Linked DNA regions of Homo sapiens: regions 1, 2, 4 and 5 are each linked to region 3. The links are contacts of gene promoters, found by promoter capture Hi-C in human tissues and cell types (Jung and others, 2019). All regions are on one chromosome and are shown on one strand. The core of a region is centred on a gene start or on the middle of the fragment in contact, and the rest is flanking DNA. Distances in the headings are between cores, read along the strand shown.

The links. Contacts are between HindIII fragments. The study calls those that stand out against the background at their distance.
Region 1: a fragment that was not itself captured here is called in contact with the fragment with the promoter of FBN1 in region 3 in 1 of the 25 tissues and cell types used here (aorta).
Region 2: the fragment with the promoter of COPS2 here is called in contact with the fragment with the promoter of FBN1 in region 3 in 1 of the 25 tissues and cell types used here (hippocampus).
Region 4: a contact is called between a fragment that was not itself captured here and the fragment with the promoter of FBN1 in region 3, in 1 of the 25 tissues and cell types used here (IMR-90 fibroblasts).
Region 5: a fragment that was not itself captured here is called in contact with the fragment with the promoter of FBN1 in region 3 in 1 of the 25 tissues and cell types used here (lymphoblastoid cells).

Annotation. Positions count from the first base shown.
Region 1 is chr15:49,055,328-49,059,777 of GRCh38, reverse strand. No RefSeq gene overlaps it. Among named protein-coding and RNA genes, the nearest start is that of SECISBP2L, 11 kb to the right of the region's middle. The HindIII fragment of the contact is 4,062 bases long and covers 1-3,975 here.
Region 2 is chr15:49,153,789-49,158,542 of GRCh38, reverse strand. COPS2 (COP9 signalosome subunit 2) reads left to right here and starts at 2,944. Exons shown (of 13, transcript NM_004236.4): 1 at 2,944-3,018. The coding sequence starts at 2,965. It also overlaps a transcript of GALK2 not described here and the pseudogene NDUFAF4P1. RefSeq lists enhancers at 1,992-2,910, 2,669-3,198. The HindIII fragment of the contact is 9,462 bases long and covers 1-4,754 here.
Region 3 is chr15:48,643,298-48,647,971 of GRCh38, reverse strand. FBN1 (fibrillin 1) reads left to right here and starts at 2,263. Exons shown (of 66, transcript NM_000138.5): 1 at 2,263-2,397; 2 at 3,022-3,366. The coding sequence starts at 3,203. FBN1-DT (FBN1 divergent transcript) reads right to left here and starts at 2,167. Exons shown (of 2, transcript NR_183872.1): 1 at 1,142-2,167. RefSeq lists enhancers at 2,099-2,188, 1,701-2,225 and silencers at 2,299-2,378, 2,419-2,598, 3,009-3,138, 3,239-3,288. The HindIII fragment of the contact is 10,434 bases long and covers 1-4,674 here.
Region 4 is chr15:48,970,283-48,975,019 of GRCh38, reverse strand. It overlaps the pseudogene KRT8P24. Among named protein-coding and RNA genes, the nearest start is that of SHC4, 8.7 kb to the right of the region's middle. The HindIII fragment of the contact is 5,600 bases long and covers 1-4,722 here.
Region 5 is chr15:48,378,564-48,383,250 of GRCh38, reverse strand. No RefSeq gene overlaps it. Among named protein-coding and RNA genes, the nearest start is that of DUT-AS1, 49 kb to the right of the region's middle. The HindIII fragment of the contact is 5,458 bases long and covers 1-4,161 here.

The sequences.
Region 1 (4,450 bases), core at 695-3,194, 410 kb before region 3:
CCACCATTTAATTACCTGTCTTCCTTTTTCTGGTAAACATCTGACTCAGCTCTAAAGGCAAGCTCATTTGTTCATTCAAAAAACACTGTTGAGTAATTTCTCAAGGAGTTTATGCTCTTAGAAAGGAAATAATTACATAAATAATTATACACAGTACACAAATAATTTCAGGCAGGATATGGCACAACAAGCTAGAGGAATTTTGAGGAGGATCTGTTTCATCCAGGAAATGGAGGAAATGATTTTCAATACAAAAAAGACACACTAAGTAGAAAAAAAATGTGTGAACAAAGTCAGGGAGGTGGGAAAGCACAGAATACATTTGGGATAGGCAGTGAGCCATCAATGAAGTTTGTAGATTGAATAAGGTGCATGCTCAGAGCTTCCATTTGGAATAGCAATAATAAATGTGCTCTGAGGGCTTGCTATGTGCTAGGCAGTGTTCCAAGCACTGGAAACATCGAGCAGTGGGCACAACAAACAAAATCCCTGCCTTCATGGAGCTTATATTTGAGATAAAAATGACAGTCAATAAACAAAACAGACATACAGCATTTTAGATGATGATAAGTGCTACGGAGAAAAAGCTGGAAAGGAGAGGCAGTGTGTGTGTTTGCATGCTGTTTTTTTTTTCTTTTTTTCTTTTTTAAAAATTTCAATAGCTTTGAGGGGTACAAGTGGTTTTTGGTTACGTGGATGAATTATACAGTGGTGAAGCCTGAGATTTTAGTGCACGCATCACCCAAGTAGTGTACATTATACCCAATATGTAGTTTTTTAAATCCCTCACCCCCTCTTCTACCTTCCTCCTTCTGAGTCTCCATAGTCCATTAGATCGCTCTGTATTGCATCCTGCTTTAAAGAAGGTGGTCAGAAAAGGCCTCACTCCAAGGTCACATTTAAGAAAAGGCCTGAAGTGAGGGCTTGAGCCATGTGGGTTAACTGGGGGTAGGGAGTTCCTGCCAGTGGAAGCAGCAAGGCCAAGGGATCTCAAGATGAGAGTGTGCTTAGAATGACAAGGGAACAGCAAGGAGTGAGCAAGTGAATAGCAAGTGAGTGAGGAATAGGAATTAAGGCCAGAGGCATGGTAGGGGCTTGATCATAGGGACTTCAATGGCCCCTCTAAGGACTTGGGCTTTTACTCTGAGATGGGAAGCTCCACTGGAGCTCCTTGGAAGAGAGGAGTGACATGATCTGACTTAAAATTTTATGGCTGACTATGGCTGATTGGGAGATTATCTGCTCCAGAGATTCTGACTTAATCGGTCTAAGAGGGGACTGAATATTCTAGCTTTAAGAGTGCCACAGATTGAGAACCACTCCTCTAGGGCTTGCAATGTGTTCTTGCATTCGTTACCTCAACTCGAACCCCTCAACAATCCCATGCATTGTGCAGATGAGGAAACTGAGGCCCAGGGAAGCTTAAGCGACTTTTGAGGGCACATGGCCTGAAATGGGTATAGATAAAATTTAAACCCAAGTTATCAAGTCTTAGTCTAGTAGTGCTCTTTCCATCATAACACTTATATTATCAATGGAATCTTTTTTCTTATGAGTTTGCCACTAGTTTTTAGGAATTTTGGTGGATTCATCTTATATGCTGAAAACATAAAGATATTATCTCTAGTAATTTTGATTCATACTATCTTTACTCAGGTTTGATTCCATGGTCTGTTCTGTCACCCTAACCACCCTCTTGCCATTAGATCATGTTACTTTCCTGCAAATAATGAGAGATACATACTCCAGTTCAGCTGTGCCCTGGCCTCAGCATTGGCCAAAATTTGCTTTTCAATTTCACCTTTAGCATTGGCCTTTGGAAGGTCATATTGTCAAATTTCTATTTCACCTTCTGGCAAGTCTAAACTGGGTATGGCCTCCCCATCATGTGATCTTACTGGGTAACCATTATATCTAATCAGCATAACTATGTAAATTATAAGAGCAAAGTATGTTAGTCAGAGTTAGTGTTAATATATGGATATGCACTTTCAAATATAGGTAAGCATTTTGGATGTATTTCCTCTGTTGAAATTCTATTAATTGTTTAATATAAACTTCAGTAATAAAGGTAATTGTGAAAATTGTTAATTTTATGCAAAAATGTAGAACTTTCAAGTAGTTAGGTAAGAAAATAATTGAAAATTAATACAATTATACAAAAGATGGGCTACATAAATTTAGAAAGAAAATTACATCCTTTTGAACCACTAATATTCATACAATGTAATTAATAATAAAAGGCATGCAGAAATAAACGCATATTAGAAATTAAAATTTTAAATGAGAATAACAATCTTAGGTGTGCATCTGAAAATATCCACAAAGCATCTTCTTCAAGCACAGCACAAACTTCAGTTTCTAGGGGGCTTCAATGAAATGGAATCATGTCCATTGACCAAATCTTCAAGTCCAGCAGCAGAAAAGCGGATAAAACTTAGTTTCTATTAGAAAGGAAGGGAAGCTTAATAACAGATGATGACATCACTATCAGAAGTATCCTATACTAGCAGAGCTAGCCAAAAATAATCTTGTTCCTCATCTGACTTTGGTTAATAGTGGACTTTAATATTTAAAATTGCAATGTGCAGTATCATGACTGTAGGAACACTAGTAATGCTAAGAAATTGTTCCTGCATTATTTAAGCTTCTGAAGTTTGACTACTGCCAAATAAGAAATGATGTTTAACCTTCTCATGTTATATTTTTAAGGATATGTTATTAATATATGTTCTAAAATTGTATGAGACTCCTAAAATTCTGATATGTCTTGGTATATGTTATCAGTCATAGTTATAGTTAGTATGTTTAATTATTGTAGGTCACAGAAATAACCAAATTTCCTTGTCAATTGTGTCTTTAACCGTGACCATTTTAAGTCTTGCTTCCAGTTAATTGCTTAATTCTGGTGCATTTTCTGAAAGCTATTTATAAGCAACTAAAATCCTAGAGTATTGTGCCTTCAAGGAGGCTCATGGAAAGGATGGAAAGGACCCTGAGAAGCACTCTTGAATACACGGTTCTGATAACTTTAGGATCATATAATTTGGACTGGGTAGGAATTCCTAGAACTCTCATGAAGAGACTGACTGATTCATAAAACTGCTAAACCAAGCAGGACAAGAATTGATTGAATATCAAGAAAAAATTTTGCCAAATGTTATGCAAAATGAGCCAGTACTGAAATTGTTAAGAAATTCAACTTAAATGAACTCCATGGCCCAAGGCAAATTACCTATGATAACAGATTTAACAAACAGTGCTGTGCAACAAAATCGCTATTTAAGAATGATAAAAATCCAATGTTAAGTGTGGACTCATGGAGAGCCTGGATGGCTGCCTGGCCCTTCCTGAGTCCTTATAGCTTCCATTATTAAAAGCTGTATACCCTATGACTTATTAGGAAAGAGGTAAAATGATTTAAATTATGTGTGTGTGTGTGTGTGTGTGTGTGTGTGTGTGTGTGGTGACTATTCTAAACTGCTAAAATGGCTTATGATCAATGTTTAGTTTGTCAAATCCATAATTAAGGGAAAATATCAAAATTTGGGGTACATTTCTGCTACATGATGAGCCTTTTGAACATTTATGAGGGCATTTCATTCACTTGCCATTCTACGCACATTTTCTGATTGTATAGAAGCTTTCCCATGCAAGAAGGCCAATGCTATAACAGTAGCTAAAAGGTTATTTTAAAATGTGTTTCCCTCATGGGGAATTCTGAAGAAATCTCCAGTGATGGAGGTACTTGTTTCACTGGACAGGTTGTAGAAAAGTTAAATAAAGTATTATAGCATTAGGCAAAGCTAAATGAATCGACTGGATTGCCTTGATCCAAAGTATTGAAGATTGATGGCAATCAGATCCACTTCCAGAGGAAAACATAAGTTGACCCCTTATGAAACAGTCACTGGAAGGCCTATCCTCCTAATAATAGAACATTATATCTCTTCCATTCCTGTACTCTGATATGACTAATTGCCGCAAGGCTTTAATGCATTATGCCAAAGTGTATTTTAGTCAGGCAAAGGAAATTTTAATGACCCATTGACTCAGGATAATTAAAACATTGATGATATAGAACCAAGATATTGGGTCTTCTGGAAGTGAAGAGAAAGACTGCCCTTGCCACACACACTGCAGCAAAACTTTGGGACCGCAAACCTTGTATCCATAGTCTCATAACTCTAAACAGCCCTTTCAGACTCAGGACTGTATACCAGGGTCCCCCTAACAGGTACTTGTCCATGGGCTGTTAGGAACCAGGCTGTACAGCAGGAGGTGAGCAGTGGGCAAGCAAGTGAAGCTTCATCTGTATTTACAGCTGCTCCCCATCTCTGGCATTACCACTTGAGCTCCACCTCCTGTCAGATCAGCAGCAGCATTAGATTCTCATAGGAGCGTGAACCCTATTGTGAACTGTGCACACAAGGGATCTAGGTTGCACGCT
Region 2 (4,754 bases), core at 1,695-4,194, 510 kb before region 3:
TCAGAAATAAGAGTGTACTAGTATTAGTGACTCAACTAGTTACCATTATGACAAATGGAATAAAGTTTTGACTGATTTACAGGAGTTTTAAAATGCATTTTATATTGAGTAGTTATTTCATGTTTTCTTAAAACAATTATTGTACTGAACTAAAAATAAACTAGGTAGTTTGTTCACCTAACCAATCTACATTCAAAGACATGCTTACAAATTTTCCACTTAGTTCATTTTTCTGTTCTCAGCATTACTACAAATGCCTCATTCCGTCATCTTGTTGAATTCTTTAGCATCTTCTGTATCATTTCCAGGGGCATCTCTGGGAAGTAGTGATGCCTATCTTCCCTCAGAAGCACACTGATAACCCCAATATACCCACAATTCACACTTATTCCCTTCTCTGAGGTGTGCTGCTTTTTGGCACATCAGAAAAAACACACTACTAGGATTTGAAAAACTAAGTTCTGGGCCTGGTTAGGTCATAAACTACAGAAACCTTAGGTCATATATTCTCCCCAGGCGTTTCTCCACTACAAAAAAAAAATTCATTATTCCCTTGGTCTTTTGTAGTCCTTTACTATTTCACTTATCTTCATGATAACCCTTAAATTTAAGTAAGGTAGCATTATGCTCATTTTATAGAAGAAATTCAATCTCAAAGAGGACATAGTCTCCCAAAGATCCCACAAGTAGTAATATATTAGGCAGAGCTAAACTCACACACTCTTACTCAAGATCCTAGTACTGGTACATGCCGTGCTAATAAGTTTGCTAAAATGGATAAAGCAGCAATTTCTCAGGTCCCTTCCAATGATCCTGTTCTCTGCTTCTACTTGCTATTTTTTCTCTCTTCTCTCAACTAGCATTAACATCCAAAACTATATATAATCACCAAATTTCATTTACCATGGTTTTTTAATTATTCTTTAAATTTTTCTAGTTCCATGTTAAATCCAGAGAAATGTTACTTTTTCGAAAGTTTCTACTACTGCCTCTCTCTCTGAAGGCCATGGGACTTAACTATTTGTCAAAGCAGAAATTCCCAACATTTCGTAAACACCACTAATTACTTTTTATAACTGTAAAGACAATTATTCCATACTTAAAACCAATTCAAAATAAAATAAATCCTCAATACTTCTTATTCCCTGGGGTAGTAATTTTAATTAGATTTTATTGATTCTTTATTTTCTCCTATGTGCCTTTATTTGGGAAATACTGTTAGTCTACCTTACTATCGAGTCTCTTTCCCTAGCAAGAAAATGTCAGTCTTAAGAGTCAGGAAAGCTTTTACTTTCACTATCACATATGAAGAATGAACTAAACACCTAAATTGGATAGGAAAACTTAAATGAGGGATTCAGGACACTTCCCAAGGGGTCATATGACCAATTTAAAAGTTGGTATGATGTGTCTAAAATAACAAATTAACTCTTTTACTTATAATAAAGGTACAGATGTGCTGATTAGTCATGCTAACATGTACATATGAAATATGCCTAAACCAAATTAAAAGAAAACAAAATACAGTCTATGGCAATCTTGAAAATTCAGGGAGCTCAATAAATATTAAGAGGATGCTCTCACAATGAGAGCATTAAACACTTGGTAATTAACATAATTTAATATGCAAAAATAAGAAAATATACAGGATGAGGGATGAGGAGTACACATAGGAAATTTTTGTGATTTTCTTCATTTTGATTGTATTGCTTTCTTGTCTTCAGGAGGGAAGATTTTGACTTCAAAAGTAACAAAATATTTAAGAAGGGAATTCACATCTTTCTGTTCTAAATGATATTCTTGCGCTATTTTCTCAGCAGTTCATGTTTCTGGATAAAGTTTATGATTATTGAAAAGTGTCAATGCTTCTACAGTGGAAATTTTGCCTTTGGGAATGCTCTTAATATTTATCATATCAAAGTGATGGCCTTTCGGCAATCTGAATTTCTTTGGCTCCTGACGTGTTTCAGCAGCTTTCAGCTGCACGGAAGACACAGGATCTTTGGAATCAACACACACATATTTTAGAAATGACAGCAGCTTGTCATCTTTACGAGCAATCTCTCCCTTAATTTCTGGATAGAGACTAATCTGCTCTGGCAGGAGGCTGCTGGTAGAGGGGTGCCTGGGAGCGAGAGAGGGCTTCATGTTGCGGATTTCCCTTTCCGCTCGGTTCTCTTGAAATTCCTGATCCCGCGAGTCACCGCAGCCCCCATCTCCTTACAACATGATGCCCTCAGGTTCACAGTAATGTATTTTTTAAAAACCAGTCGTTGTTACCTTAATTTGGTCCCAAGGGCTGTAAAGGTCAGTTTACAACTCGTTGAACAACTGAGTAAGATTTAAGGCAACTCAACTGATAGCTGCATACCTAATTTAGGATATCCATAGAATTGTTTTGTCAACTACAAATATAACAAGCATTAAGTGTAAACTGTGTTGCTGAAAAGTACTCCAAGTATCTTAGGAACACCCACCGCAATGTGTGGGCTAAATGCACACGTACAATGATAGCAGAAATAATACCTGTCATATAGGACGGGCATGTCAGCCTTTTCTCCGCGAAAGGCTTCTGGTCCTAAGCTGTCCCTTACTTTCACCGGAATGAGATGCGTCCAGAGTCCCAAGCAAGGGAGGAGACTGCTCCTTTACCCAGGAGGCTGGAAACTGCTCGATGCGAGCGCAGTTTCCGACGCCCTTCGGCTGAGACCTGCAGCACCGGACGATGTCCCAGTTGCCAGCTTTAGTTGCTAAGGCACCAACCACTTCGGAGGAAACGGGGGGTGGTGCAGTCTCTTTTGGAGTCGTAGCGAATCAGCTACAAGTCGAGATAATTAGTTCCGGCAGGAAACAGCTCCTCTAAGAGGGACTGGAAGGCGGAAAGAAGCTGAGAGTGACGCCTCTGAGCCGCGGAGGATTGTGGGAGGAGGTTGTCTCCAATTTCTCCTCCCCCTCCCGGCCAAGATGTCTGACATGGAGGATGATTTCATGTGCGATGATGAGGAGGACTACGACCTGGTGAGGCGCAGGGAATGGAACTCTGAGGGTGGTGATGTGTCTTGTTTTCGGGGTCCGGGCCGGGGCGCCCGCGGCCTCTCCCCGTAGAGCATGTGCCGTTTACAGCCTCTCTCAGTGCGGTGACAGGACTGGTTTACCTCCTCCCCGTTCCCGCACCGGGCCCGGGCCCTGCTTCTCCAGCATGGGGGAAGGGAGGGCAAAGGAGGCAGCGAAGGGGGCCCCGGGCCTTGCCCTCCGAGTCTGAGCGCCTCTTCGGTTTACACGGATGCCCCTGGTCCCAGGCGTTCGGTTCTCTGTCTTCTGCCTCCCCACCGCGCTAGCCGCCTCGGTGACCATGCTGCGGTGTAGGCCCTGGCTTTGCCCTTTCGGGCCCAGCGTTCCGGGCCCCCACTTCTTCACACTGGAACTGAGCGGGTGCGAAATGCTAGGAGAAGTCAGAAAACGGGGGTGTCCTTACTGCTCCCAGGCCTGACTGCGAAACGCAACTTGTGAGTCTCCTGGAGACATAGCTTAAATAGTCTTGCCAGGGCCAGTTTTGGTCCGAGGTAAGTGTGTAGGGGAGAGTTCAGAGCAAAGATAACTGAAAAAAAGGTAGTCGAACCACTTTTTCAGTTCTTTATAAAGAAAAGCTGGGGAGGAGGTTTTGCTTGTGGTGTTTTTGGAGGACGGGTGAAAGATAATTGAACCCATGGCTTTTCCCTTAGAAATTTCCCAGTATACAAAGTTTAAAACAGCAACAGCATAGAAATAAACGAATTTTTCTGACCGAATGGAGATTTTTAAAGATTCAAAGCTTCATTTATTAATGGATTTGCAAGTTTGAATAACGTTTGCTATTCAAAAACATCGTGTGGAAACTCAGAAAATTATCTTGATCCAGAATTAACGTCAATTTTGCTGTGTTTCTTTATTTTGGGGGTGTTTCATATGGTTCTTTTATGGTGATGCTGCATTATCATAAAGTTACGAAATAGATGTTTTGGGACGTCTGACTCATTTTAAGTGCCAGAGATTGTCAAAATATTAATACATTGTTTTGAATTAGTCTATAACTTTTTCGTATATATTTTCAGTTTTTTGCATTTTAAAATAAGGCACACTTTGCAAAAGGGAGAAAGGAAATTCTCGCTATTATTTGAAAGTCATAGTAGAGATTTTTATAATTTTTAAAGTTAAATGTAGTTTCGCTAATAGTTATGGTTTCTACCTTACATTTTAGTTTGTGCAAGCCAGTTGTAGGCAGTGACTTCAGTTCATTAAGAATATGTATCTGTCCATTTTTACTTATTACCTGTTTATTTATATTACAGGTGTTTTGTTATCAAAATGTTTCTTTTATATGTGCTTGTATTTTTTTAATTGATTCATAGTATTTTGTACATATTTATGGGGGGTTTCGTTACATGCACAGGATATGTAGTGATCAAGTCGGTATTTAGGATATCCATCACCTTGTGTTTTTATCATTTCTGTGTCTAGGGAATATTTAAAGTCATCTCTTCTAGATATTTTGAAATATAAAATACGTTTTAACCATAGTCACCCTGCTCCGCTGTCAAACATTAGAACTTACTCCTTCTATCTAACTGTTGGTTTGTACATACCATTAACCAACTTCTCTTACTTCCCCACTCCTCTTCCCCCCACAACACCCTTCCTATCATTCTACTCTCTACCACCGTGAAATCAACTTCTTTTGCTCCCAGATCTGAGTGAGAACATGTGATATTTGTCTT
Region 3 (4,674 bases), core at 1,014-3,513:
TACAGACTACTCAAATCAGAAACTCTGGGTGTTGGGGCCTGGTGTCAGTGTCAGATTTTTTTTTTTTTTTTTTTTTTTTGAGGCAGAGTTTCACTCTGTTCTGCCCAGGCTGTAGTGCAGTGGCACAATCTCCTCTCACTGCAATCTCTACCTCTCAGGTTCAAGCGATTCTAGTGCCTCAGCCTCCTGAGTAGCAAGATTTACAGGCATGCACCACCACACCTGGCTAATTTTTGTATTTTTAGTAGAGACAGGGTTTCACAATGTTGGTCGGGCTGCTATTGAACTACTGGTCTAAAGTGATCCACCCGCCTTGGTCTCCCAAAGTGCTGGGATTACAGGCCCAGGCATGAGCCACCATGCCCATCCTGGTGTCAGAATTTTTTTAAAGCCTCTTATTATTTTACTGCATAGCCAGGGTTGAGAACTGCTATCCTAAGTAGAGTCTAGTTATGTTTTAGACTTAAGTTAAATATCACTTCCTCAGGGATCCCTTTCCTGATCAGCCCTAGCCTAGGTCAAGTCCCCTTGTTATATATCCTCCAAGCAAGCACCCAGTACTTATCCTGTTTGGCGCTTAACAATTGGTCCATTATTTGTTTCAAGTCTGCCTTTCCTTGTTGACTACCTGCTGTGTGAGGGGAGACACATTTCTGCCCTTTTCACTAAATTGTTGAAGTCAGTCGTGTTCAAATTGTTGAACCTGCCTTGTTAAAATTGTTGAAGTCTAGTTCAACAATGCACTAAGTAGTACACAGTTCGTGCTCAGTAAAAACATCTTGAATGAATGATCTCCTTTACTCAGCCAGGAGTGTGTGACCAAGGCTCTCATTCATGAATCTGCTAAGAGACCTTTTGCAGGTGAGACCTTAAAGTACACCACATACATACTTACAGGACTATGGCTTTAGATCAGCTCATAGTTCCCACAGTTTTTCTGTTTCATCTTCATGTATCACAGCAGTTCAGCATGTCCATCATCACCATTACAACCCTGTGTGGTGGACACTACAAGTCCCATCTTGTATTTGGAAAGAAGTTGAATAACTTGCCCAGGTCTCTCTACCCTACTGTCTGGGCCCCTTTACAAACGGTTACAAATAAGGAAAATCCCTTTCAACAAGATACATTCCCAGGGTACCTGTTTGTGCTGAGCTTTTATTATTGGCTTGACAGCAGGCTGGTGGCTGCTTGCAGGGGATCTTCTGGGGGTCTCCAGTTACAGCAGCCAGGACCCAGTGTGCGACTTCAGGCCTTCCTAAACTGTTACAGGGTGCAGGCATCATTGGGCATTATCCATATAAGGATGCCACAAATACTATACCTTTCAAAGCCACTAAATTCACTGTGCCGCGCATATCCTGGGGAGAGGCAGCTGTGTGTGGGGGAGGGCGAGGGGACCGGGAGGGTGTAAGTAGAGTCCTCCAGATGAACCCCAGTCTTAATCTGGGCTGGGCAAGAGGACCATCCCTTCACCGCTCCCATCCTACATCCTAGGTTCCAACATTTACAGGCCCCTGGGTTGGACACCGACTTAGAGAGAGCACCCTGGATTCAGGCCTGGGTGGCTTGAATTGAGCCTCAGAAGAGCCGCGTCTGGAGTGGGCTCTCGACACCCAGGGCAAGTGGGGGCGGCAGAGCCCTCTCCTCGGTCGGCACAGCAGCCTCTGCCGCGGTCCCGGCCTGCGACGCGCCCAGTCTTAGCCTCCCGGCCTCCGGCGTCTGCTGAGTGTCCGGCGGGAGAGGCGCAGGGAGCGCGCTACCGGGAGGCGCGGGCAGCGGGGACTGGTTTTCTCTCGGGCCAGGGCCTCCGGGGCAACCGTCTCCAGCGCGCATTCTTGGTGCAGGTGGAACAGCTTTCTGCTCCGGTAGGGCTTCACCTATCGCGGGAGAGGTTAATCTCGGATCTAAACCTCGCAGCCGCAGAGCGGGCTAAAACCGCTACTCCACCTCTTCCCATTTCTCCCCTCCCCACCTCAAGACAAAAAGTCCCAGGCCGGGCAGGACCTGATCACCTCTGCCTCCTCCCACTGCGCTAATCCTGCGAGCGAGAGGCCCCGCACCGAGGCGGAGGCTGGCAAAGGGGAGTGGAAAGGGAGGATGGATGGGGCCGGGGGGTGGGGTGGTGATGAGGGCGACGAAGGAGGGGGTGTCATTTTCTTTTTCTTTCTTTTTTTAAAAAAAGTATTTCTCTCGCGAGAAACCGCTGCGCGGACGATACTTGAAGAGGTGGGGAAAGGAGGGGGCTGCGGGAGCCGCGGCAGAGACTGTGGGTGCCACAAGCGGACAGGAGCCACAGCTGGGACAGCTGCGAGCGGAGCCGAGCAGTGGCTGTAGCGGCCACGACTGGGAGCAGCCGCCGCCGCCTCCTCGGGAGTCGGAGCCGCCGCTTCTCCAGTGGGTGCAGCCGGGGTCCCGACGGGGGTCGGGCGGCCACCGGGGCTGGAGCTGCGGCCACGGAGGCTTTTGCGTTTGCGCCGCGCCGAGGGCAGGGACAGGGACTGGGGTGAGGGGCTGTCCCGGAACGTCCACAGCTGGCGCTGGCCCTCCCCTGCCTGACAGCTTCCTGGCCCGGGGCTCTTGGTGCCGGGCTCCGCGTCAGATGTTCGGGGGGCGGTGGCATCGCCCGGAGTCGGCGGGGACGGCGCGGCTGGCTTCCAGCCTGGCGGAGAGGGCAGGCTGAGGAGTGGGGCGTTCAGAGCGCGCATCGCGCGCAATTCGTGCCGCTAAAAAAAATAAACCCAGAGAGCTCGCCCGGGGCTTAGGACCGCTGGGGATATGGGTACTTTGCGCCGCGCTCTTCTGGCGGGGCCCGGGAGGCCGAGGGATCGGCCGGGGCTGCTGCCGCCGGGGGCCTGGGCTTTCCAGCCAGCTGTGGACCAAACGGTCTTCCCTTACCCAAATTAACTGCGCCACGCGCAGGCGGCGCACGGGTTGGGCTTGGGAATGGGGACCGCGAGGCTTCAGCATCCCGATGCCCTGAAAGTCTCCCCGCCTCGGGGATTTGTCTCTGTGTTGCAGCTGGCAGGGGCCGCCTGAAGTGGGAGCAGCGCCTGGAGAAGGCGGGAGGAGCCCGGCCCGGGGGACGGGCGGCGGGATAGCGGGACCCCGGCGGCGCGGTGCGCTTCAGGGCGCAGCGGCGGCCGCAGACCGAGCCCCGGGCGCGGCAAGAGGCGGCGGGAGCCGGTGGCGGCTCGGCATCATGCGTCGAGGGCGTCTGCTGGAGATCGCCCTGGGATTTACCGTGCTTTTAGCGTCCTACACGAGCCATGGGGCGGACGCCAATTTGGAGGCTGGGAACGTGAAGGAAACCAGAGCCAGTCGGGCCAAGAGAAGAGGCGGTGGAGGACACGACGCGCTTAAAGGGTAAAGGAACCGGTTCCCTCCTTTGGTGTGGGTCTCCCAAGTTTCAAGATCCAGAACAACGGGCAGGATGACTCTCCCTGTGGAAGACTCCTTGGCAAGACCTCCTGGGGGCACCTTAGAGGTGCTAGGGTTGTTTAGTCCCCACCCCGTTCGTGGTTAAACTACCTTGCCCCTACTCCCAGAGATTTCTGCCCCAAAGGAGAGGACGTGGTTAAATGGAATCTTGGGCCATTGTTGAGGCAGATTTTGGGAGGCGAGAAGAGTTCCTTGGGGAAGAAGGGGAGGAGTTGCGAGTGGGATAAGAGGAGAAGCCCGTTCCTTTCCCTGCAATATCAATTCTGGTTGTTTCTAGAGGAAAGTACTTTCCTTGGGGTCATCTTGGTAGATGCTGTATTTGAAAGGGGGCAAGGAAAGGAAGGGATTCCCATGACAGTCAGAGGAGAAATCACACAGTAGTTGACTCTTCCGTAAATTATGCTTATTAAAATTACGGATTGGGTTTTCTGGGCAATGCTTCCTTTAGATGTCTACATTGGAAGCAGAACAGGGCAAGTGGTTCTGAGAACTGGTTTTTTGAGTTGTGTGGGGCTCTCCGTTTCACTGCAGCAGTAAGGCTGCTGTGGCCGGCCTTAAGGGAGTATTTTTAACTAGTGGTGTTTGTGTTGTGTACATGCAACTGACCATTTCACTGGCTTCCCATGCCGCTGTTACAGATGTTTCAGCCGGAAAAATTTTAATTAGACTTGACTAAGGGTTGTCATTTTCCTGTATTGAAGGACAGTGGGAATACATTTCCTTTAAGAGAAATTTGTCTGCAGTTGTTTAAGTTAAAGCCTCCATGGAAACAACAGGATGGACTGTCAGTGACCCCTTTTATCTTCTTGGAGGAGCCTGTTAAATAAATTCAGACAGTATATATAGGGAGATTTTGTATTAAATTCTTACCATTCTCGCTGATGCTCTTTTCCTGAGTGGTTCTGTAGCTTTATTATATAGCTCTGGGTCACCAAGTGATGGTATCCACTTGGATATGTGGCTGTTCATTTCACTTACTCTTTTTTTGTTATGAGGTGTTATAGTCATGTATATGTAGTAAAATTTGTGTTTGTATGGCCCAGATATGAGAAGAAAAAGTAAACTCACCAGACCAGTTTTTGACTCCTAGTCTGGAGTAAGGACAAGATGATTGTATGAGCCAAGCACTTAGGCTGTGATAAAATAGCACAGAAAATAGTTATGATTAATTCGGTTCCATCTTGGCCTTCGTGGAAAATAAACCCAGAATTCCGATAATGTTGGAAGGAAGTT
Region 4 (4,737 bases), core at 673-3,172, 330 kb before region 3:
CTCTTATCCCTGCTTTCCTGCAGCAAACTGCATTCCTCCCTCTCATCACTTACTCAAGCCAGAGAGGTTCCTTAGTCTCTATAGAGAATCCTACCATGCTATTCACTTTTCCCACTAAAAGCAAAAGTCTTGTAAGATAAAATTCCTCTTCTTAAAAAGAAGTCTGGGGCTTAACCCAGAGGCAGACCCTGACCTGTCTCTCTGTGAGAGGCCTGTCCCAGTTAGTCTCCTGGGAAAAAGCATTTTTTTTTAGTGTGCGTTCTTTAGGCATCTTTAGGACCAGCTGGACGATATTTTCATCACTACACAAGCAACGGCACTTTGGGAGACTACAGTAATAATAGCTTACTTTGTACACGTATTTTTAGTTCACAAAGTAAATCCACAGACTCCCTTACAGTGATTCCCAGAGCATATCCAAAATCATTTGGAGATAGAAATAGGGCTGCTAACTTATGTTTTGCCAGGTAGAGCCATTTAAAAAGCTGCCTAGTATCCATGTTTGCCATTACTTCCTAACGGAAAAGACATTTTACCACACACAGAAAATAGGAAGGACAATCTCAAATTTTTTTTTTTTAAAGCACTGTTTAAATAGAACTTCACTATAAGGTCCTCCTTTTCCCCCATGTATTTTAAGATTATTACTATTTCTATATAAACTGGAGAAAACATTTTTACAGATAATCAGTGGTTTGGGAACAGTGCTCCATTGTTTTTGATACTTAGAGTTACCCACTTGCAGGTGAGGAAGCCAAGGTTTAGAGACTATCAGCTGATGGAATGGTTAGAATCAAATTCAAGTCTGTCTGCTCCCAGTGGCTTTTTCTTATTGCAGATTGCCTCTGTCTAACCACCTTGCCAGTGTGATTCTACCCAGAGAAAACCTAACTGAAAAGCAAATGAAAGTCTTGGCTACACTTGGATCACCAGACTACACCCAGTTGGTCAAATTTTATTTTTGATTGAAAAATAACTGAGCTCGTCGGATGGAATTAGCCTTTCAGGAAAGTTCCTCTCTAATTTCATTATTTGCTTTATCAACAAAGCCATTCATATAGGTGGTTTCTAGGGGAGAATTATATATTAGAATGCTAATATATCTACTCGTATGTATCTATCCATATACATCTATTGACTGGTGCCTGAAATTCCCTCATTTTGGTGTCCTTTAGTGATAGGTTTCTAAACATCACTAAAAAGAATAAGGCAAAAAGGTAGACAGCATGTCCTTTCAGTGTAATACTGAAGCATTGTTTAACAAGCTTAGTCAATAATTTTTTTTAACTTTTATATTCGGGGGTACAGGTGCAGGCTTGTTATAAGGGTATATTGCATGATGTTAAGGTTTGGGGTACTAATGATCCCATCACCTAGGTACTGAGCATAGTACCCCATAGTTTTTTTATTTTTATTTTTATTTTTGCAGAGCTAGCTGAGGTTTTATTTTGGGAAAAAAAATGGAATTGTTTTGTAATTGGAGGCATGGGCAAGGCAGGTCCCCCAGGCAGTAAACTTCCCCGCAGGTGGGCTGAGGGCCAGGGCTGAGCCTCAGGTGGGCCTCCTGTTCCCTGTGCTCCCCTGCACAGCGGCCTCCCTCTCAGGCCCTGAGGCAGCAGCAGGAGGGATAGGTTGGGCGGGGCTGCCGTGGCCATTCACTTGGGCAGAACATCAGAGGACTCGGACACCAGCTTCCCATCGCGGGTCTTGATCGTCTTCGCAACCACGGCCCTGATGGAGCCGGTGCGGCTGAAAGAGCTGGAGGCCCGGCCAGAGCCAAAGCTGGAGTCCCAGGCCTTAGCTGAGGTCAAGGCTTGTGACGCTCCGGTAGGCCGAGCTCAGCGCACCTGCATAGCCACTGGTGGTCTTCCTGTGGATACTCATATTCTGCATCCCAGATTCCAGCCGGCTCTCCTAGCCCTCCAGCAGCTTCGTGTAGGTGGCGATCTCGATGTCCAGGACCAGCTTGCCGTTCATCAGCTCCTGGTACTCAGGCAGCTGCCGTGCCATGTGCCATGTCCTGCTTGGCCCGCTGCTGGGCGGCCTCCAGCTCGGACAGCTTAGTCTTGGCGTCCTTAATGGCCAGCTCCCCCCGCTGCTCAGCATCTGCGATGACGGACTCCAGGGAAGCTCTCTGCTCTGGCCTTTGAGGCAGGCCCTCAATCTCAGCCTGGAGCCGGCTGATGTTCCGGTTCATCTCAGAAATCTTCGTCTTTGTAAGACGCCGGTCATCCCAGTGCTTCCCAGCCAGTGTCTGCAGCTCCTCATACTTGATCTGCTACATAATCTCAGCCTCGGGCCGGCTGCAGTTGGCGATTTCCTAGTACTGCGCCTTGACCTCCGCGATGATGCTGTCCATGTCCAGGGAGCGGCTGTTGTCCATGGACAGCACCACAGATGTGTCCAAGATCTGGGACTGCAGCTCTGGGATCTCCTCTTCATACAGCTGCCTGAGGAAGTTGATCTCGTCAGTCAGCCCCTCCAGGCGAAACTCTAGCTCTACCTTGTTCATGTAAGCGTCATCCACATCCTTCTTGATGAGGACAAATTCATTCTCCATCTCTGTAGGCTTATTGATCTCGTCCTCGTACTTTTTCTTGAAGTCCTCCTTCACGAAAAACATGCAGAGCCCCTGCATGTTGCCAAGCTCTGCCTCCAGTTTCAGCTTCTCCTGGCCCAGGATCTCTAGCTGCCCCAGAAGGTTGTTGATGTAGCTCTCGAACATGTTGTCCATGTTGCTCTGAGCCGGCTTCTGCTGCTGCAGGAGGCTCCAGTTGGTCTCCAGCATCTTGTTCTGCTGTTCCAGGAACAGTACCTTGTCAACGAAGGAGGCAGACTTGTTGAGGGTCTTGACCTGCTCTTTCTCCTGGGTGTGCATGCCCTGCATGTTGGGGTCCACTTCCAGGTTAAGGGGGCTCAGCACGTTCTGGTTGACTGTGACGGCTGTGATGCCTCCCATACGCTGGCCCCGCATAGCCTCCACACAGACCCATGCTGGTGCCCAGGACATCTCGGAAGCTGCTGCTGCCCACTGGGGAGAAGCTCAACAAGCTTAGTCAATAATTTTTTTTAACTTTTATATTCAGGGGGTACATGTGCAGGGTTGTTATAAGGGTATATTGCATGATGCTAAGGTTTGGGGTACTAATGATCCCATTAGGAGGCCCGGGGGCCAGAATTGAACACCTTGTAGGACTTCTGGGTCACCCTGATGGACATGGTGGAGGCAGGAGTGGAGGCAGGCAGGCTGAACCAGGCAGAGATTCGAGAAGGAACGGAGAAGCTACTTCTAGGTCCCGTAGTTAGTTTTTCAACCCTTGCCTCACTCCTGGCTTCTCCCCCAATGGTCTCCAGTATCTATTTTTGCCATATTTATGTCCGTGAGCACCCAATGTTTAGCTACCACTTATAAGTGAGAACATGCAGTATTTGGTTTTCTGTTCCTGCGTCAATTCACTTAGGAAAATGACCTCCAGTTTCACCTATGTCAACGCAAGGGACATGATTTTGTCTTTTTTGATGGCAGCATTATATTCCATGGTGTATTTGTATGACATTTTCTTTAATCTGCCATTGATCTGCACCTAGGTAGATTTAATGTCTTTGCTATGGACAAGTGGGACCTAGTTAAAGAAAACTAGGTTTGCTATGGTGAATAGTGCTGCAATGAAGACATGAGTGCATGTGTCTTTTTGGTAGAATGTTTTATTTTCTTTTGGATACATACCCAGTAAATGAGATTGCTGGATCAAATGGTAGTTCTGTTTAAAGTTCTTTGAGAAATCTCCAAACTGCTTTCCACAGTGGTTGAACTAATTTACATTCCCACCAACAGTATATAAGCATTCCCTTTTCTCTGCAGTCGTGCCAACATCTGCTGTTTTTTGACTTTTTAATAATAGCCATTCTGACTGGTATGAGTGGTATCTCATTGTGGTTTTGATTTGCATTTCTCTGATGATTAGTGATATTGAGCATCCTTTCATGTTTTTTGGCTGCTTGTATGTCTTCTTCTGAGAAATGTCTGTTAATATCTTTGCCCACTTTTTAATAGAGTTGTATGGATTTTTTTTTGCTTGTTCAATTGCTTAAGTTATAGATTCTGCATATTAGTCTTCTGTCAGATGCAGAGTTTTCAAATATCTTCTCCCATTCTGTAGGTTGTCTGTTTACTCTGTTGATAGTTTGTTTTGCTGTGCAGAAGCTCTTTAACTAGGTCCCACTTGTTCATCTTTCTTTTTGTTGCAATTGTTTTTGAGGGCTCAGTTATAAATTCTTTCCCAAGGTTGATGTCCAGAATGGTGTTTCCTAGGATGCTTATGGTTTGAAGTGTTAAATGTAAATCTTTAATCTATCTTGAGTTAATTTTTGTATGTGGTGAAAGGTAGGGGTCTAGTTTCTTTCTTCTGCTTATGGCTGGCCAGCTATACCAGCATCATTTATTGAACAGGGAGTCTTTTCCCCATTGCTTGTTTTTGTCAACTTTGTTAAAGATCAGATGGCTGTAGGTGTGTGGCTTTATTTCTGGATTCTCTATTCTGTTCCATTGATCTATGTGTGTGTTTTTGTACCAGTACCATGCTGTTTTGGTTACTGTAGTCTTATAGTATAGTTTGAAGTTGGGTAACTTTGTTCTTTTTGCTTAGGGTTGCTTGGCTATTTGGGCTCCTTTTTGGTTTCATATGAATTTTAGAATAGTTTTTTCTAATTCTGGGAAAAATGATGTTAGTAGTTTGA
Region 5 (4,687 bases), core at 183-2,682, 260 kb after region 3:
GATACAGAGTTGTCATAGATTGAATCAAGCTGGAATGCTGAGCCAACACATGGAGGACAGCAGCCCTAGCACGCTGCCCAGACATGCAGCACAATTTGCTTGAGTGAAAAATAAACTGTTATTGCATTGTGCACAAGATTTTGGGATTGCTTTTGCAGTATAACGCTTTTCCAAATCAATGTCTAAGTGTTTTTTCATGCAGGGTCAGATTTACCACTCACACATTCTCCCATACCTCCTTTTTGCACTTTAGTAATTGGTTTTTGGATTTGATTTAGCAACTTATATTTGTTTTTCTCATAAAAATTAGTTTTAATCATTTCAGTTCAATGAAAAATTTGGTATTTTGATTCCATCAAACAAAAATATTCATTCTTCCCACTACCTCCATTACATTTGAAATTTTGATAAGAATAGAGATGAAACCTAGAAAAAAGAAATTTCTGATGGCACGCTTTTCTTAGCTTTCTACTCTCTATTCTCATGGTAATGTTCAACCCTAATGAAGACAGTTTCAGACTTTCTTAACTCAGGATAAACGTAAAAGGAAAAGTCACCAGGGGAAAAATAACAACCGGAAATCCTGTTTTTATTAATTAGTTGAGCTCTCAGTTCTCATAATGAAAACAAAACATAACTATGGAAAAGATATGTAATTGTCTTACTTTATTGAGCTACAAAATCATTTAATGTTAAGCATTTTGGGGAGAATCTAATGACAAATAAGATTTCATTGCTATCTCAAAGAGTCTAAAGTTAGACCTGTGAAAAGTATAGGCTGAAATCAGGTTGATTACATTAACATAAAGCTCCAACACTGTGGCTGTTACTGTTGGTTGTGCACCCAATGACCATTCCCCATTTCTTCAACCTGAATTCACCTGATGTTGTTCGGGTATCAGGAGTACATGGGCTTCAGGAAGTATTGGCCTCTTCCCCCAGACCAGTTATGAGCATTATATAGTCCTTTGTCCTTCCTTGGTTTGGAAATGGGCATGCCATACAATTCCGGCCACTGAGATGAAAGTGAAGTCTGCAATGAGGTTTCTGGGAAAGTTTTTCTCACTCTTAAAAAGAGACATAGGGAAGGAGGCTTCTGTCTTCCAGACTTAGATATACGTGTGTGAGAATGCAATATTTAGAGTCTCAGCCATAGGACCGTTAGAGGAAAAAACAAAACCTGACACAGTCAGCCTGGCAGGCCAGACAAGATGGAAAGAATTACGTTCCTTATTACATAAAGGAAGTGCTGAATTAACCCATTCAGGAACTGTTTTACCACTAGACTTCTCATATGGATCATAAATATTTTTATCATGTAAGCCATGTTGAGTTGCATAGGTCTTTTGTTACTTGCTGTCAAAAGCATCCTAATTGTTATAATCACTAAGAAATTTTTCAGCATACACATCCTTATGCTATTTTATAAAAAGTAGAACCTTAGTAGTAGTAGTAGTAGTAATGATAACACTCTTACAATTATGAGAATCTACTTTGGGTGAGGCACTATGGTAACCACTTTAGATAGATTTTTTTTTTTTAATAACCTTTAGTCTTCCAATTCAAGCATAGGGTCTGGTATCTTGTTTCTCATCTTCTCTGAGAATGGGTTTAACTATAAAGGTCTGAATTCACTTGATATAAAATTTAGTCTATGGTATTCTAAGTTCTTTGACCAACAAATATTTGTCAATATGAGGTGACCCAGAAGTTTGTGATGGCTTCAAAAAGGAAAAAAAAAAAAAGATTCGTTTACTTAATTTTGCATTTCTCTTGAAATATTGAACTAAGTGTAGAAACAATTCCCTTAGAGGAAGTTAGGAATTTGCAGAAGGGATGTTAACACTTTAGAGCTACCACAGTACCAATAACTACATTTTGGCTTTGGATTTTGGAAAAGTGCTTACCTGCCCTCTGCCTGCCCCTGGCTTCAAAAGGCTTCACCCATGCTCAGAGTTCATCTTGCTGCTTCAATTAAATGGGCAGGTGACTCTCAATTCACTTGAACTATGGACATACCCAACGGGGAAATGTTCTGCAGTGTGTTCACATATGAATTTATGTGGCCTGGGAGGGTTGTAGGGCTGTATGATGCTCCTCAATGGTTTCTGAGTGACTAAGCTAAGGCCAGCACTCAATGGCCAGCTAGAGAGTCTCACCTCATATCCTTCCAAGGTGGCCACTGGGAGTGAAAAGAGGGAAGGAATCATCACTGCTTCCTTCCTGTTTTCCCCTCCAGGCAGGCAGAGCTACAAGAGTACTATGTCAGGAAAACATTGGTAAACAGGTTGAAAATTGCTGTTCACAATTTTCCTTTCACATTTCAGCAAGGAGGCCACCTGTGAAAACAGAATGTTCTAAGTGTCATCCTCTAAGAAAAGAAAACAAAGGCTTATGGGCATTGGGGACAATGCTTCCTGCCCTGCTGTCCATTCTCAGCCTCACCAAGCCTAGTAAATAGACAAGCTTGGAAACAGTGATGTTTGTTTCCGAAGAAATGACATCAGTGCAGGGGTCAGCACCTCACCTATTTTATTGTGGGGGATATGAGGGTGAAAAATGAAAATGAATGCATAGTGTATGATGAACATTTGAAAAAGCCTGATCCCTGGTGGTTGCTGGGTTCTCCCTGTCCTGAATAGGTACAAATAAAGTGGGGCATAATTTAAGTTCATATTGTATGAATATAAGAATAAGCATGACGATATGGCAGTGTCCCCACCCAAATCTCATCTTGAATTGTAGTTCCCACAATCCCCAGGTGTCATGGAGGGACCCAGTGGGAGGTAATTGAATCATCGGGGCAGTTCCCCCATGCTATTCTGATGACAATAAGTTCTCAAAAGAGCTGATGGTTTTATAAGGGGCTTCCCACTTGGCTCAGTTCTCCTTCTTGTTCTCTCTGCTGCCGTGTGAAGAAGGACATCTTGGTTCCTCTTCTGCCATGATTGTAAGTTTCCTGAGGCCTTCCCAGCCATGTGGAACTGTGAGTCAATTAATCTTCTTTCCTTCATAAATTACCCAGTCTTGGATATGTCTTTACTAGCAGCGTGAGAACGAACAAATACACATGGTTTAAGAAAAAAAATGGAGAAGAGCTTTAAAATAATAGTCTTTCTCTATACCTTTCCCTACCACCCATGCCATACCCTGAGGCAAACACTGACATCCACAGTACTGGATAATAGGTGTAGATTTCTATTTCTTGATCTATTAGCACTTAAGGATATCAATTTACTCTTAAAATGTCAATTTAGCTCTTTACATCATCCTTCACCTTCCCTCCTCCTTATGCTTCTGATCTTTAATAGTTCTGTTACTATTTTTCAGTTTTTTCACTGACTGCCTTCGTGACTTTAAATAACACATTTATACACTATTTCATCCTCCATCAACCTTGGTCAATATCTCAACTCCTTTTTTTGTAGAGTAAATTACAAATATAGACATAGTTTTTGCATAACCATAGCAGTTAACATTTATTTATGCTTAGCTGTCAGGCATCTGTACTTTGTCTATTGATTAATTTTAGAAGGTAGAAGTGAATACAGAGCATTTGTATTTCTGTGACTGAGTAAATCTTGCTCAATGCTGACCCAAGTAGCATGTTAGAATTGCATTTTCTTCTCAAAGGTCTTCTGGGATATGTAAGGAAAATGTTTATAGCATCAAGGCCAAACAGATTCCCTTTTCTTATATATTATCAAATTGCTTAAAATCATACCCCTTTATTATTTACTCTATATTCAGACCAAGATTTTCTGTCCTGATTATTGTTTTTCCTGACACTTTTAATGTGCTTTGTGTGAAGTAGTTCACTGTGCATTGATTACCAACTTGCCTGAGTCTGGTGAGACAGAACACACTCATATGCAACAAGTTACATGAAGCAAATTTATTACTTACAGATATGTAGCAAGAGATTGCAGAATCCCAGAATTCATTGTAAGCCAGTTCCCCAGGACTCAGGAAAGCTACACAGGGCAGATGAAGTCTCAACTGTGCATGCCCTACTTGCACCACAGCTGAGACTCTAAAACTAACCCATTCTGAGTTTTATAATCTGGGGTAACAGGACCCTGTGGGATGAAGCACTGAAGGATGTTCTGTCCTGCAGGTAGCTGGACTGGGACAGAACCCAGGCTGTTCTGGCCAGTCCCTCCCTATCTCAGGATGTTGCCTTCCCAGAACATTCTACAGCTATTCTTGAAAACAAAAAGTGAGAAAGAGTTGAGAACTGGGTCTGTCCAGGGCCACCCAGAGAACTGTCCTGCACTTTGCCTTTTTTTGACAAAACAATAATGTGCTTTTATGATTTCCTCAAGTTTTCTCATCCCCTTAGTCGTGCTGTCAAATGCAAGCCTTCCTCTCCAAGCAGTGCATCCTCCCGTTTCGTGACTGACCTCTGAGACCTGCCTTTTTTGTACTTTTGGGTTGAACCTTCTGTTTCCAGAATCCTATGCTGCTTCTTCCTTGACTTTCATTCTCATTTACTTTTTCTGAAGTGCATCCTTACCTAATTTCAAGCAAGGATACCCTTGCTTGTCGAGAAAGAGCTTTATTTTGGCCTTACACTTCCTGGACAGTTTACCAGAATTCAAGACTCAAAATCCTCAGCCCTCTGCCTCACACTCAGCTGCAAAACAATTTTCACAGGTAAAATTGAGTACATTTTCATCAACATATT